Regions from separate parts of the Homo sapiens genome. Here all the other regions are linked to region 3. The links are contacts of gene promoters, found by promoter capture Hi-C in human tissues and cell types (Jung and others, 2019). All regions are on one chromosome and are shown on one strand. The core of a region is centred on a gene start or on the middle of the fragment in contact, and the rest is flanking DNA. Distances in the headings are between cores, read along the strand shown.

Region 1 (3,267 bases), core at 741-3,240, 620 kb after region 3:
TATCAAGGTTCTATCACCTACTCTTACTAACTTCACAAACATTATCATGGCTTCAATTGCAGCAAGAATTCAGTATCGTTCTTTGACCATTGTGGGCCTCTCAGAGGCTCTGCATAGCACTGGGGGCCACAGGTGCTGAACAAGCAACAAAAGGCCTCAAAGGACAACAATCCTAGACGGTCCCTGGGAAGGATGCACACAGCACACTTTCCACCAGAAAGCTCCTTCTGGCATAGGGACAGGATTAATGGAGCAGCAGTTCTGTACCACGGTGGGGAGAAGATGGGCATGTCGTGCATTCTCCATCCCAAACTTTGGAGATCATTAAAAATACAGCTTTCTAGTTGTGCAGCCTGAGATCCTGGTGACATTTTCCACGCCTGCCAGAGCTGCTGCATGTGACCGACGGAGAGGCATTCCTGGGGAAGGAAGTCTGGCCTCTCCACCTCGCTGGTAAAAAACTAACATTTCATCTCTGCCGTGGCTTCCAGCTGCCCCAGGGCACCCGCTGACGAGGTCACTTGGAAACAGGGCACAAGGAACCAGGAAACATATTTTGATGTGGAACCAGAACAGTGGGAAAAGGTTAACTGCAAACCCCAGGAGCGAGTTTGGGACATATTTACTGAGCTTTGTTTGTGTGAACACTCAGAAATGTTACAGGCATCACACCTAACTGGGCGCTCTGCAGCCAGGAGATAAAGCTAACAGGGTCACGTGGGCACGGAATTCTTCCTGAAACCCCCAAGCAGAGGAAAAAATAAACAGCCACCCATGCTTTCCAACCTCCACACCAAACACAGGTCCAAGGTGGACAGGAGGGGCTGTGCCTGCCAGAACACGACATCCCTGCGGACACCTTGCCGCCCAGGAGACGAAGAAGGAACCAGGACGAGCTTGCGCTTTCAAAGGCTGCCTGCCATTTTTACTGCGACAGTAAGACCGGGGCTGAGGCAGCCGAACGGTGCTCCCCGCAAACTCACATAATGGAGTCCTGCCCAGCGTGGGGCTGTGTCTGGAGAGAGGGTCTTTACAGAGCGATCAAGTTCAAATGAGGCCACCAGGGTGGCCCCAACCCAGCAGGACCAGTGTCCTCACAAAAGGGGACATCTGGACACAGACATGCACGGTGGATGGAGAGATGAGGAGTCATGGGGAGAAGACGGCGCCTCCAAGCCAGGGAGACAGGTCAGGCAGATGCTCCCTCACAGCCTCCAAAAGAACAGCCCCTGATCTCGGCTTCCAGTCTCAGGACCCCGCGAGAAAACCTTCCTGCTATGAAGGCCACCCGTCTGCGGGACCTTGTCAGGGCAGCCCCAGGAAACAAATACGTGGGGTTCACCCAAAGGTTCACAACTGCATTACGACACTCCTCATGCCAAGTCCCAGTCTTGGGACCTTGATGACATCACTCTTCCCTTATCTCGCCAGTTCAGTGAAGTTCCGCGGTGATGGACGACTTTGTCACCGTCCGTAAGCCTGGAGACCATGAAGCGCGTTGTACATGACTGTGGGCTGGAGAGTCAGTGCCACTACGCTTGTACTTTTACTTAAACAATAACAGTGATAGTACAGCAGGCAAAAACAGTTCTTAAATTTTCCCAATGCCTCCAACTGAATGGGATTTTTATTGTAAATACAATCCGGGTCCTGACACAGGCTCGTTGTGATCACCTAGAATACGCCAGCCTTTTAAACCTTAATGTATTAAAAACAGAAGTTGGGATAGAAAGGTAAATGCGCCCACTGCAAGTCAAGAAAAATCAGGGGTAATCCTTGCTTTCTCTCGAAACCTCAGCTGACGACGATTCTAAGTATCACGCCAGTAGAAAGGCAGAATCAGCCATGGGGCTGCTCAAAGAACTGTCAGCTCTAACACTGTTTCTTTGCCACAAGCCTTCAGAGAGGTTTGGGTGGGTTCGTTCCCAGCCTGGAGGCTTGTTACTGCTTGTAGCTCTAATTCTGTCCATGCGTGCTCCAGCCATGGCTGAAGCATGGCCTGAGACTGCAGAGCAGAGACGGGTCCTCCCAGAGCACCCTCACTGCCTGCCTTCCTCACCCTGCAGGCATGGGGGCTGCACCTGCCCTCCGCTCTGCGGGGTCTCGCCCCCTGAGTGCTCGCTAATAAAAAAGGAGTGGGGGGTGGGGAGGGACGAAAAAAAAAAAAAAACAAAAACAGGAAAACACCCAGCCTGGAATACCCCGGGCTGCGCGTGGCAAACGCCTCTTCCTGAGGACACAGCGGCAGCCCTGACGTCACGGGCCATGGGGCACTGCCCTCGACCTCCTGCACGGACGTTTTCATGCCTCAGATAAAAATCCCAGAGCAGAAAGCACTCTCAGGGGCCACTCACAGCCCACCAGCTGGGAAAGCTGTTTCGTTAGAGATAAAAACACCAAGCTGGTTAAGTGGACCCAGCGGAATTCCAGCAGCCCCTCACACGGTTAAAAAGAAAAACCAACAACCTGGGACCCAAAGAAGGAAGGCGCGTGAGCTCCCCCAGCCTGATGCCACAGCCGGCGTCTCTGGGGAGCAGGAGGCCGTGCTGTTCCAAAGCGTGGCGGACTGGGTGCTCTGGGGCACTGTTGAGCTGCGGTCCCATCTGCACCCGAGGCAGGGAAGGCAATTACTGCAGGGGAGGAAGCGGGAGCAGCAGGCAACCACCGAGGGGGGCCAGGCACGTGCAATTCCCCGAGGAAGAAACTGCGCGTGTGTGAGCCCTCCTTAGGGGCGGATGGCGTCTCCCGGAATTCCCACGTGGAAGCCCTGACCGCCAGCAGGGCCACCCTCTTTGAAATGGGTGTTTGCAGAGACTGAGCGAACACGAGGCCATCAGCAGGGCCCGAGAGGATCTGGAGACTTCAGATGGGAAACGCGCAGACGGAGGCAGAGGCGAGGCGCACAAGGAAAAGTCTGCATGAGGAGGCAGACATGGGGACAGACTCTGCCTCCCAGCTCCACGAGGAGCCCACCTGCCCACCCAGGTCCTGACTCTCGTCCCCAGACACGGCCGCCCCGCGCCGCCCCCCGTCCCGCTCCCCGCGTTCCGCCCCGCCCCGCGCCTCCCCTCGCCTCCCCGTCCCGCCCCGCGCTGCCGGCTCACCTCATGTAGGACGTAGGGGACAGGGGCTTGGGCTTCGCCCACTGGTAGGGGTGCTGCGGCACCGCCAGGTACTGGTCGCAGAAGCCGCCCTTCCTGATGTGCTGGAAAGAGGAGTAGTCTTCGGGCGCGAAGTCGGCCGGGGGCGGGGGGCTGCCCAGGTCCT
Region 2 (3,214 bases), core at 181-2,680, 670 kb after region 3:
CTGGAATTAACCCCTTCTCTAGGGCTCTGCGTGGTGGGGGACGGCACAGGGTCTCGTCCGCATAATCTGCAACACTGAGCTTGCTCACTACCGCCTGGTTCCTGATTCTAGCCACTCGGTGTATGGCCTAGGACTGTGTGTGTTTACTAAGTCATGCTCACACATGTCCGTGTTTATTTCTTCATCTATTTATTTATCTCACAGAAACCACAAGCCCAAACTGATCTGGGCTTCAATCCAGCCCTTCATTTCTAACTTCATCGCTAACAGGGAGAAATCTGCTTCTCATTAGCTACCATGCATGGGCTTATTGATTCCTGTAAGAAGCAAATGCCAAACGCAGCCCACGGTTTGCAGTTCTTTTTGTCTTCAGCCTTACAGTGAACCACAGTCAAACGCCTTTCCCAAGGCCACTGAAAAGAGCTCCTTTCTTCCCAGCCCACAGTGTGGTTCTGCGGTTCATGGGCCGCTGTCTGCATTCCTCCTCCCTTAGCTCCATGCTGGTGCCGTCCAGCGGGCTCTGAGAGAGGCACGGTCAGGTGTCCGCCACCACCGCGCCAGACAGAGCAGCTTCCACACCCACACCCCCTCGGGATGCCTCTCCGGTCACCCTCTACACTCAAACCTTTAGCGACCACGGACGGGTCTCTTCCCTACAGTTCTGCACCTCCCAGGTGTCCGGTAAAAAGAATCAATACCAGCTTTCAAGTCTGGCTTCTGCTGCACAGCAAAATGCACAATGTATGATCCATCATGTCATGTGAGTCAGCAGTAACCCCTCACTGCTAAGCACAATCCCACTGCCTGGTGGCATGACACACAGGCTGGCCATGTCCACTAGGATGTCCTTCCATCACACACAGGCTGTCCCTGTCCACGGAGATGTCCTTCCATCACACACAGGCTGTCCCCGTCCACGGAGATGTCCTTCCATCCACGCACAAGCTGTCCCCGTCCACGGAGATGTCCTTCCATCACACACGGGCTGTCCCCGTCCACGGAGTTGTCCTCCATCCACGCATGGACTGTCCCTGTCCACGGAGATGTCCTTCCATCACGCATGGGCTGTCCCCGTCCACAGAGATGTCCTTCCATCACGCGGGAGCTGTCCCCGTCCACGGAGATGTCCTTCCATCCACGCATGGGCTGTCCCTGTCCACGGAGACATCCTTCTGCCCACTGGCTGAAGGGCACAAGGTTGTTTCCAGCTTCTGGCAGTTATGACAGTGCTGCTGTGAACATTCATATATAGGATTTAGTATGAATCTAAGTTTTCATTTCTCTTGGAGAAATACCTAGGAACAGGACTACTGGGTCATGGGGTAAATACATGTTTACCTTTGTAAGAAATGCCCAAACTGTCTTCCGAAGAGGCTGTATCATTCTCCCTTCACCCTAGCAGTGAAGGGGAGTCTCTGCTGCTCTGGACCCTCCCCAGCCTTTCACGTTGCTGGTATTTCGGCTGTTCTAGCACGGGTGGGTACACGGCATCTCACGGTGGCTTCAACTTGCAGTTCCCTGATGAAAATGGCACTGAGCATCTTCACAGGCTTCCTTGCCATCTGTGGATTATCTCTGGGGTGGTGTCTGTTAATATCTTCTGTCTACTTTAAAAACTGGGTTGTTCTCTTGTTGAATTTTGGGGGTTTCTTATATACTATAGAAACAACTCCTTTATCAAAAGTGTGACATGCAAATATTTCCTTCTAGGCTGTGGCTTGTTTTTTCATTAACAGTATCATTCAGAGAGAAAAACTTTTTTTTTTTGAGACAAGGTCTCGCTCTGTCACCCAGGCTGGAGTGCAGTGGCTCAATCACAGCTCACTGCAGCCTCCAACTCCTCAGCTCAAGCAATCCTTCCACCTTAGCCCCCTGAGCAGCTGGGACTACAGGCACACAGCAACCACCATGCTCAGCTCATTTTTTTCTATGTTTTGTAGAGACACGGTCTCACTATATTGCCCAGACTGGTATTGAGCTTCTGGGCTCAAGTTATCCTCCTGCTTCAGCCTCCCAAAGTGATGGTATTACAGGCATGATAAGCCACTGCACCTGGCCAAAACTTTTAAATTATGGTAAAGTCTAATTTATTATTTTTTTCCTTTAAGGATCATGATTTTGATCTCATGATTAAAAACTCTTTGCTTAACCCAAGGTCATGCATATTTTGTGTGTATTTTCTTCTGAAAGGTTTATAGCTTTACATATAGGTCAAGGGTCCACTTTGGGTGGATTTTCACATGAAGTGTGAGGTGGAGGTTGTGGGTCTGTTGCTCATGGGCGGCGAATTGTCCCAACAGCTGCAGACACAACTCTTCTCCTTCTGATTTCCTCTCATGTTTGCCAAAGATCATCTGACACATGTGATGTATTTCTGGGCTCTCTTTTCTGTTCCACCGATCTTTTTGTCTATCCTTTTGACAATAACACATTGTCTAACTGATTACTGTTTTACAGTAAGTCTTGGAATCAGGTAGTGTGTTTTCCAACTCTGTTATTTTCTTTTTTTTCTTTTCTTTTTTTTTTTTTTTGAGACGGAGTTTCGCTCTGTCGCCCAGGCTGGAGTGCAGTGGCGCGATCTCGACTCACTGCAAGCTCCGCCTCCCGGGTTCACGCCATTCTCCTGCCTCAGCCTCCCGTGTAGCTGGGACTACAGGTGCGCGCCACCATGCACAGCTAATTTTTGTATTTTTAGTAGAGACGGTGTTTCACCGTGTTAGCCAGGATGGTCTCGATCTCCTGACCTCGTGATCCGCCCGTCTCGGCCTCCCAAAGTGCTGGGATTACAGGCGTGAGCCACCGCGCCCGGCCCAACTCTGTTATTTTCTAAATTATTTTGGCAATTCGAGTTCCCTTGCCTTGCCATATAAATTCTAGAGTGAGCTTGTCAATGTGAAGCAATACTGAGGCTCTCAATCCATGAACATCTAATTGAGGCTCAATCCAGGAACATCTGTTTACGCCTCCCAACCCAGGAACATCTGTTTACGCCTCTCATTCCAGGATCATCTGTTTACGCCTCCCAATCCAGGAATATCTGTTTACGTCTCTCAAACCATGAACATCTGCTTACGCCTCTCAATCCAGGAATATGGGTTTATGCCTCTCAATCCATGAACATCTGTTTATGCCTCCGAATCCAGGAACATCTGTTTATGTCTCTCAATCCAGGAACATCAGTTTACGTCTCTCAAACCATGAACATCTGCTTACG
Region 3 (3,505 bases), core at 351-2,850:
AATAAAAGGAACGAGGGCTTCTTGGAGAAATGGCTGATTTTAGGGCTGTGGTACGAAACACACAAGATGAGCCTGGAGTATCTTGTAGTGCCAGAAAGTAGGAAAGTGTTTAACACACACAGAACCCAGCAAAACCCCACAATGACAGGGTATGCAAACAGGACATAGGAGCTTAGTGAGCTCCTAAGGGCCTGAGCTGGAAACATTCGAACAAAACTAAGTAACACGGGATTATAACCCATGAGTTCTTGGTGATATGAATGAATTAATACATGGGGTGAAGAGACATATCCCTTGTGCAGAATGCAAACCACTTATGAGCAAAATTCCCCACTCATTAGGCATGGGCTGCACACAGCGACTTTCTCCCAGAGTACAGTAAGGAAAGGGGGCAAAAAGAGTAACTTTACGGTAGAGAAACCTGGCAAGCACCTCATGCAGGGGATCACGGCCAGCGTGGACCCTGGATACGGTGCGATGAGAATGGCCTTTACCTCTGTAGTCTTCCTCCCCAAAAGCCATAATCCACGTCTAAGCATTAAAAAAACAGGCACATTCCAACAGAGAGGCATCCTGCAAAGCACCTGACCAGTACCCCTCAAAACTGGCACAGCCATCAAAACCAGGGACAGTCTGGGACACTACCCCAGCCTAAGGAAACAAGACAATTCAATGTAACGTGGACCTTGGGTGGGCACCTGGGACAGGAAGGGACAGCAGGCAGAACCAAGGAAAAGTGAATAAAGTATGAGCTTCAGTTAGCAACACTCTTATCAATATCGGCTCATTAACTGGAACACGTTGGAAGCTAAAGTCCGACGCTAACACAGGGGGAGCTGGGTGCCAGGACACAGGAACGCGGTACTATTTTTGCAATTTTTCTGCAGGGTCTAAAACTGTCTTTAAAAGTAGTGTATTAAAGTAGAAAACATACAACCACCTACCATACTTAGAAGAACTAAAAGCAGTGTGAAAAGTCAATGTATTTTATTGTACTTATCTTTCATAATTTAAAAACACTAATTATCATGACAAGCTTTAGTCTTCAAATTCACACAGAAAGTCAACATTAGCAAGGAAATTCTTATATTTTTTCATTTTTCCTCATTTTCTGAAACTAATCTTCTGAAAAATACGTCTGGTGACAAGAATCAAAATAAACACACATTGTCACTTTGTTTTCTTAACCCGACACACGTCCACGAACACAAAAGCTGCAAATGCTGACAGTGAGAGCTAGAACTGCTGCAGACCCCAGGAGGCAGGAACTGGCGAGCTAGGCCGCATGGGCGCAAGAACGCGGATGAGCGGACACCGCAACCCGGGGACACCGCCCCCTAGGGAATACCGCGCCCAGGGACACCGCCCCCGCCGCATTACTTGGTTTTCGAGGCAAATTTCTTGAGCCAGTTCTTGCAGGAGACAGCAGAGCAGTGAAGTCCCCGCTCGCAGCCTGGAAATAGCGCAGCATCGCGGCTACGGAACAGGGCCCGGAGACCCGCGCGGGAGCGCCACAGCCCGCCCGCCGCAGCCCACATGGCGCGGCGCCGGGACCCGGAGCGAGCAGGGAGACAACGGGCGCAGGCGCGGAGCGACAACTGACGCGAGGGTGGCGGCGTGTGGGCGGGGCGACGGCGCAGAGCGGGAGGAAGACTCACGCCTGGCAGGCGGCGTGTGGGCGGGGCGATGATGCAGGGCGGGGCGATGATGCAGGGCGGGGCGAGGACAGACGCGAAGCTGACGGCGTGTGGGCGGGGCCACGGCGCGGGGCGGGACGAAGACGGGGTGCAAGGCGGGCGGGGCAACGACGGCGGAGGGGCGAAGGCCCGAGGGGGGCGGTAGGTGGGCGGGGCGAGGACAGACGCGAAGCTGACGGCGTGTGGACGGGGCGACGGCGAGGGACGGGGCAAAGACTGGACGCAAGAAGGGGCGGGGCGACAACGGCGGAGGGGCGAAGGCGCGAGGCGAACGGCGAGTGGGCGGGGTGAAGACCGACGCGAAGCGGGCGGTGGTTGGGCGGGGCGAAGACTGACGCGAGGCGGGCGGTGAATGGGCGGGGCGAAGACTGGCGCGAGGTGGGCGGTGGGTGGGCAGGGCGAAGACTGAAGCGAGAAGGGCAGCGCGAGGTGGGCGACTACCAGAGCGAAGCGAGCGGCGTGTAAGCGGGGTGAAGACAACGCCAGGTGGGCAGTGTGCGGGCGGGGGGGGCGGCAACGGGGGCGGGGCGAAGGACGACGCGAGGCGGGGCCGGCGGGAGCTGGGCGTGGGGAGGCCGCGTGGGCTGCGCGGAGGGTGTGCCACTCGGGGAAGCGTGGGAACCGCCTGGTTGCCTGGCGCTGCGTAGCTAGGAACACGTTTTGTTTAAATACTGGGAACTGACGTAGGCGGGTGCGCCGCACAAAGCAACGAAGGCATCGAAGCCTGGAGACCTGGGCAGGGCCGCTGTCGGCGGGAGGCTGCGAGGGGTCCGTCTGTTTCCGCCACTGGGCCCTCCAGGGCTTTGCTGCTGCGCCGCCTTCTCCCCGGGCACCTAGAGAAAGTCCCCAGATTGGGCGTCCTCCCCAGAAGTGGTCTCGCCCCGCCCGCCTCCCCAGAGTCAGCGTGGCCCAGCGGGGAAGCTGCTCCCCCCGGGCGTGGAAAGAGAAGTGAGCGCGACCGCAGTGTTGGGGATGCGTGGGCTGTGACTCCCCCGAGGCGGCTGCTGTGGTGTGAGACACGTCTGTGTGTGTGTGTGTGTGTGGGCGCGTGTGGATGTGTACATGTGTATGTGTGCATATGTACGTGTGTGTGCATGTGTGTGGACATGTATATGTGTGCATGTGCGTGCGCGTATATATGTGTGTGTGTATGCGTATGTATGTGTGTATATATTGTCAATCGAAGAAAACGACGAGACAAGTCTCTAATCATTTTAGGAGATTTATTTGCCAAAGTTAAGGACGCACCCAGGAGACAGGTCTACGCCTTTCTCCAAAAATGATTTTGAGGGCCCCAGATTTAAAGGGGAAAGGGCGGAGTATTGAGAAGCAGAGTTTTCACAAACAAACGGGCAGAGGAAAAACGTGGGGAATCTGCATTTTACATAAGATAACGCAGACAAAATGTGGTAGGGGAACAATCAGATGGGCTAGGGTGACTGCACCTGTAAAGATAAGCTATCAATTTGCATTGCCATGGTTAAGTTTTATTTTTTTGAAATGGAATCTCTCTCTGCCGCCCAGGCTGGAGGGCACTGGCGTGATCCCGGCTCACTGCAACCTCCACCTTCCAGGTTCAAACAATTCTCCCGCCTCAGCCTCTCGTGTAGCTGGGATTACAGCTGTGTGCCACCACACCCAGCTACTTTTTGTATTTTTAATAGAGACGGTGTTTCCCCATGTTGGCCAAGCTGGTCTCAAACTCCTGACCTCAAGTGATCCGCCCAACTCGGCCTTCCAAAGTGCTGGGATTACAGGCGTGAGCCACCGCGCCTGGCCACCATGGTGAAATTTCAACAGCTCACCAG
Region 4 (3,224 bases), core at 217-2,716, 570 kb after region 3:
GGGGGGTGGAGGGTGCAGCCGAGACACTGGGCAGGGGGTGCAGGAGAGATGTCCACGCTGGGCACAATGCTGAGAGGGGAGCCGGGGCCAATCGAGGCAGGAGTGTGGCTGGTAGGACAGGACGGCCGGCTGCCAGGTGGGGTGTGGACTGGAGGTAGCAGGAGCGGCTCAGCCCCACCGGCTTCATGCTGTGGCCACGGTCCTGGGGGCCGCCACCTCCCACCTGTGAAGGGCAGGCACGCTCCCCGCACGCCCCTTCTGCCTCTGAGATACGTGATCTGTGCTAAAGTCAGTGCTGCTCAAACCCACGGTGGGGACTGCCGCATGCTGAGCAAATAAGAAAAAAATTAATGCACTGCTCTGGAAAGCAATCCTTCTCTATAAGGCCTAGGTTTTCTTTAAAACATTCAATTTCTGGTCAACCATGCTTGAAGTTTAATTAGGACTCAATCATTATATTTTCAGAAAAAGATAAAATATTTTCTTCTGTAAGATATATTGTACTTTGTTCCAAGAATGGGCTGGACTCACTAAGTGTGGGCGGCACAGACCACGTAAACCCCAGGGGGGTCCAGAGCGTGAGGCCCTTCCCCACAATCCCGGGGGTCCCAGAGCGTGAGGCTCTTCCCCACAATCCCGGGGGTCCCAGAGCGTGAGGCTCTTCCCCACAATCCTGGGGGTCCCAGAGCGTGAGGCCCTTCCCCACAATCCCGGGGGTCCCAGAGCATGAGGCTCTTCCCCACAATCCCGGGGGTCCCAGAGCATGAGGCCCTCCCCACAATCCTGGGGGTCACAGAGCGTGAGGCTCTTCCCCGCGAGGGCTGGGCTGGGGGCTGCACATCACCCCTGCAGCTCTGTCTCACAGACACTCTTAGGGTACAGCGACTTTACAGCAAAACCCCATTTTCCACATCTTGAGAGGCCTTTCCAGAGCTTGCCTGATAAAAACAAGGAGTCCCAACAGTTTGGTGTGAACGTGGGGATTCAAGGGCTTCCTTAGGATCTGGTCTATTACAAATGCTGTTTACATTCAGAGAAAATGGAAACCTTCCAAAACACCCTGATTTTACTAAGAGAACGCAGCTGCTTTTGCAATTAGCGCCCAGTGTGTAATTTCCCTCTCAGATGACAGGAATCTCTGCAGTTTTTAGAAAAAAAGCAATATAAAAAGATTATTGATGTTAGCTAAGCTTACCCAAAATACAGTAAAATTCAGGATGACCGCTAACTGTCCCCTCCGAGCTGTGGGGAGTGGCCTGTACCCACAAAATACAGTAAAATTCAGGATGACTGCTAATTCTGTCCTCTCCGAGCTGGGGGGAGTGGCCTGTACCCACAAAGGAAGCCGGGGATGGCGTGGGGGACGCCTTTCTCTTCTACTGGTTCAGGGACTGAAGAAACAAACTGGATGGTATTTTCTTTAAGAAAACACCCTAAAGGTTAAAAAGGTAAGATGATTTTTTTTTTTTTTTGTATGAGTGAAAAGGAGCCATTCCCACGGCGGGTGAGGGGCAGGCAGGTTGAGGAGAAGGTGCCCCAGCCTGGATGCCCGTGGTCCCAGGAGATGAAGTTACCCCTGGAGAAGTGTCTCGGGGACGTCCGCCCAGCACAAAGCTCATTCACCATCCTTAAAGACCACATCAGGACTACAGGCTTAAAAGCAAAGTTTATTCCTAAAGGTGCCTGCAAAATAGCTATACCTATTTGCCTTTTCACCGTAAGCAGCTTTAGGGTGCAAATGCACACCAGGACCCCCTCAGTTTTTTGGAGCAGAAGAGCCATGTTTTCCCCTTGGCTGTTATACATTCGCAAGAAGCAAAATAACCGTGACTATCTGAGTATGCAACCCCCGCCCCCCACCCCCAACAGGGATCAAGGAAAATGCATCCGAAGCTTCCCTTTTCCTTTCCTTTTCAGGGCATCGATGGCTCGGTCTCACTAACGGGACATCACACAGTTAAATGTGCAACACGCCACGCTGCTTTACGGCGACGTCGTTTCTGCGTCTTTAGAAAAAGCACCCCACGCGCTCATGTTCACGGCTTACGGTTAGAAAGATGGCGTTACCGTTGGCGGGAAGGTAGGTGAAACGCTGGTACTGGCTTCGCTTTCTCTTCCCGTTGCAGACGTAGAAACTGACGTGAACGGGGCTGGTTATCCTCTGATTCCGAAATGGCGGGATCTCAACCACCAGAGAATTCTACAGGAGAAGGGCACACAGGAGGCACAATCAGCACCGGGCAGGCGATGGCTGCCGCGCCACGGCGGCCACACGGCAACCCCGCGTTTCCACGGCGGCCACACGGCAACCCCGCGTTTCCACGGCGGCCACACGGCAACCCCGCGTTTCCACGGCAGCACAGGACTGCCGTGACGGTAAACTCCCAAGCAGCCACCTGGGCGGTCCAGAAGCAGCTGATGACAGCCCTGGATGCTCTGTGCCACCTGCACACGCGTGTGGACACGCACGCTCACAGGGAAGGGGCTGCCCTTGGCTTCTTGCACACCCAGGAGCCGAGAGGCTTCCTCAGAGCAGCACAGCAGACAAGACCAACCTAAGACTGAAATCTTGTCAATATGGGGAAAGAAGCCAGGAAAAGAGAAGCTGTAAACAGAACTGGGACCGGGTGCCTGAGGGTGGAGGTTGCCCGGGGCCACCTGGGCAAGGGGACTGGCGGGGATGCAAAAGGCTCTGCCTGCTCTGATGCCAAAGGGTTGGTGACCTTCAGAAAACGACCCAAGGCTCCGCCGCCAGCCACTGTGTGATGGAAGTGCTCGGTGGCCCAGCACCTGCTCAGGTGACTGCAGCGAAACCCAGAGGAGCAGGTGCTTCCTGGAGACGCGGTCTCTGGGGAGGGCCTGTGTTTGTCACATTTGACGATGGCCGAGGCCCTCAGTCAGACCCCAAATTCACTCCAACTGAGGAAGAGGAGGCAGGCCCTGACCCCCGCAGACCCCGGGGTGGGAACAGCCAAGGGCACGGAGGCACAGACAGCAGAGGGCGGCGTGTGGAGGCTGCCGTTACCTTCTCATGTTTTTAATGTAACAGCCAGCAGCATGTTTACGAAACTCATGCTCCTTCAAGTATACACATGAAACACAAGCCATGGGACGTGTGGCGCTGTTCGCAGAGGTCGGGGCTGGGTGGGGGGCTGGGACACGGAGACCCCAACCGCGTGCTCAGGCCCCAGCGTTACTCGGGCCCCTGATGACCCTAAATGACT

What was found. Contacts are between HindIII fragments. The study calls those that stand out against the background at their distance.
Region 1: a fragment that was not itself captured here is called in contact with the fragment with the promoter of RBFA in region 3 in 1 of the 25 tissues and cell types used here (dorsolateral prefrontal cortex).
Region 2: a contact is called between a fragment that was not itself captured here and the fragment with the promoter of RBFA in region 3, in 2 of the 25 tissues and cell types used here (heart left ventricle and lymphoblastoid cells).
Region 4: a contact is called between a fragment that was not itself captured here and the fragment with the promoter of RBFA in region 3, in 1 of the 25 tissues and cell types used here (lymphoblastoid cells).

Annotation. Positions count from the first base shown.
Region 1 is chr18:79,411,339-79,414,605 of GRCh38, reverse strand. NFATC1 (nuclear factor of activated T cells 1) reads right to left here. Exons shown (of 10, transcript NM_001278669.2): 2 at 3,105-3,267. Among named protein-coding and RNA genes, the nearest start is that of NFATC1, 17 kb to the right of the region's middle. RefSeq lists an enhancer at 2,926-3,267. The HindIII fragment of the contact is 4,795 bases long and covers 1-3,267 here.
Region 2 is chr18:79,363,583-79,366,796 of GRCh38, reverse strand. The region is part of intron 26 of ATP9B (ATPase phospholipid transporting 9B (putative)); the gene reads right to left. Among named protein-coding and RNA genes, the nearest start is that of NFATC1, 31 kb to the left of the region's middle. The HindIII fragment of the contact is 8,130 bases long and covers 1-3,214 here.
Region 3 is chr18:80,032,529-80,036,033 of GRCh38, reverse strand. It overlaps RBFA (ribosome binding factor A), which reads right to left and starts at 1,600. Exons shown (of 7, transcript NM_024805.3): 1 at 1,381-1,600. The coding sequence starts at 1,538. It also overlaps a transcript of TXNL4A not described here. RefSeq lists silencers at 1,405-1,554, 1,665-1,744, 1,755-2,074, 1,957-2,113, 2,145-2,314. The HindIII fragment of the contact is 12,317 bases long and covers 1-3,505 here.
Region 4 is chr18:79,466,426-79,469,649 of GRCh38, reverse strand. It overlaps NFATC1 (nuclear factor of activated T cells 1), which reads right to left. Exons shown (of 10, transcript NM_001278669.2): 8 at 2,068-2,200. It overlaps LOC107985162 (a long non-coding RNA gene), which reads left to right. Exons shown (of 2, transcript XR_001753518.2): 2 at 1-331. Among named protein-coding and RNA genes, the nearest start is that of NFATC1, 72 kb to the right of the region's middle. The HindIII fragment of the contact is 4,601 bases long and covers 1-3,224 here.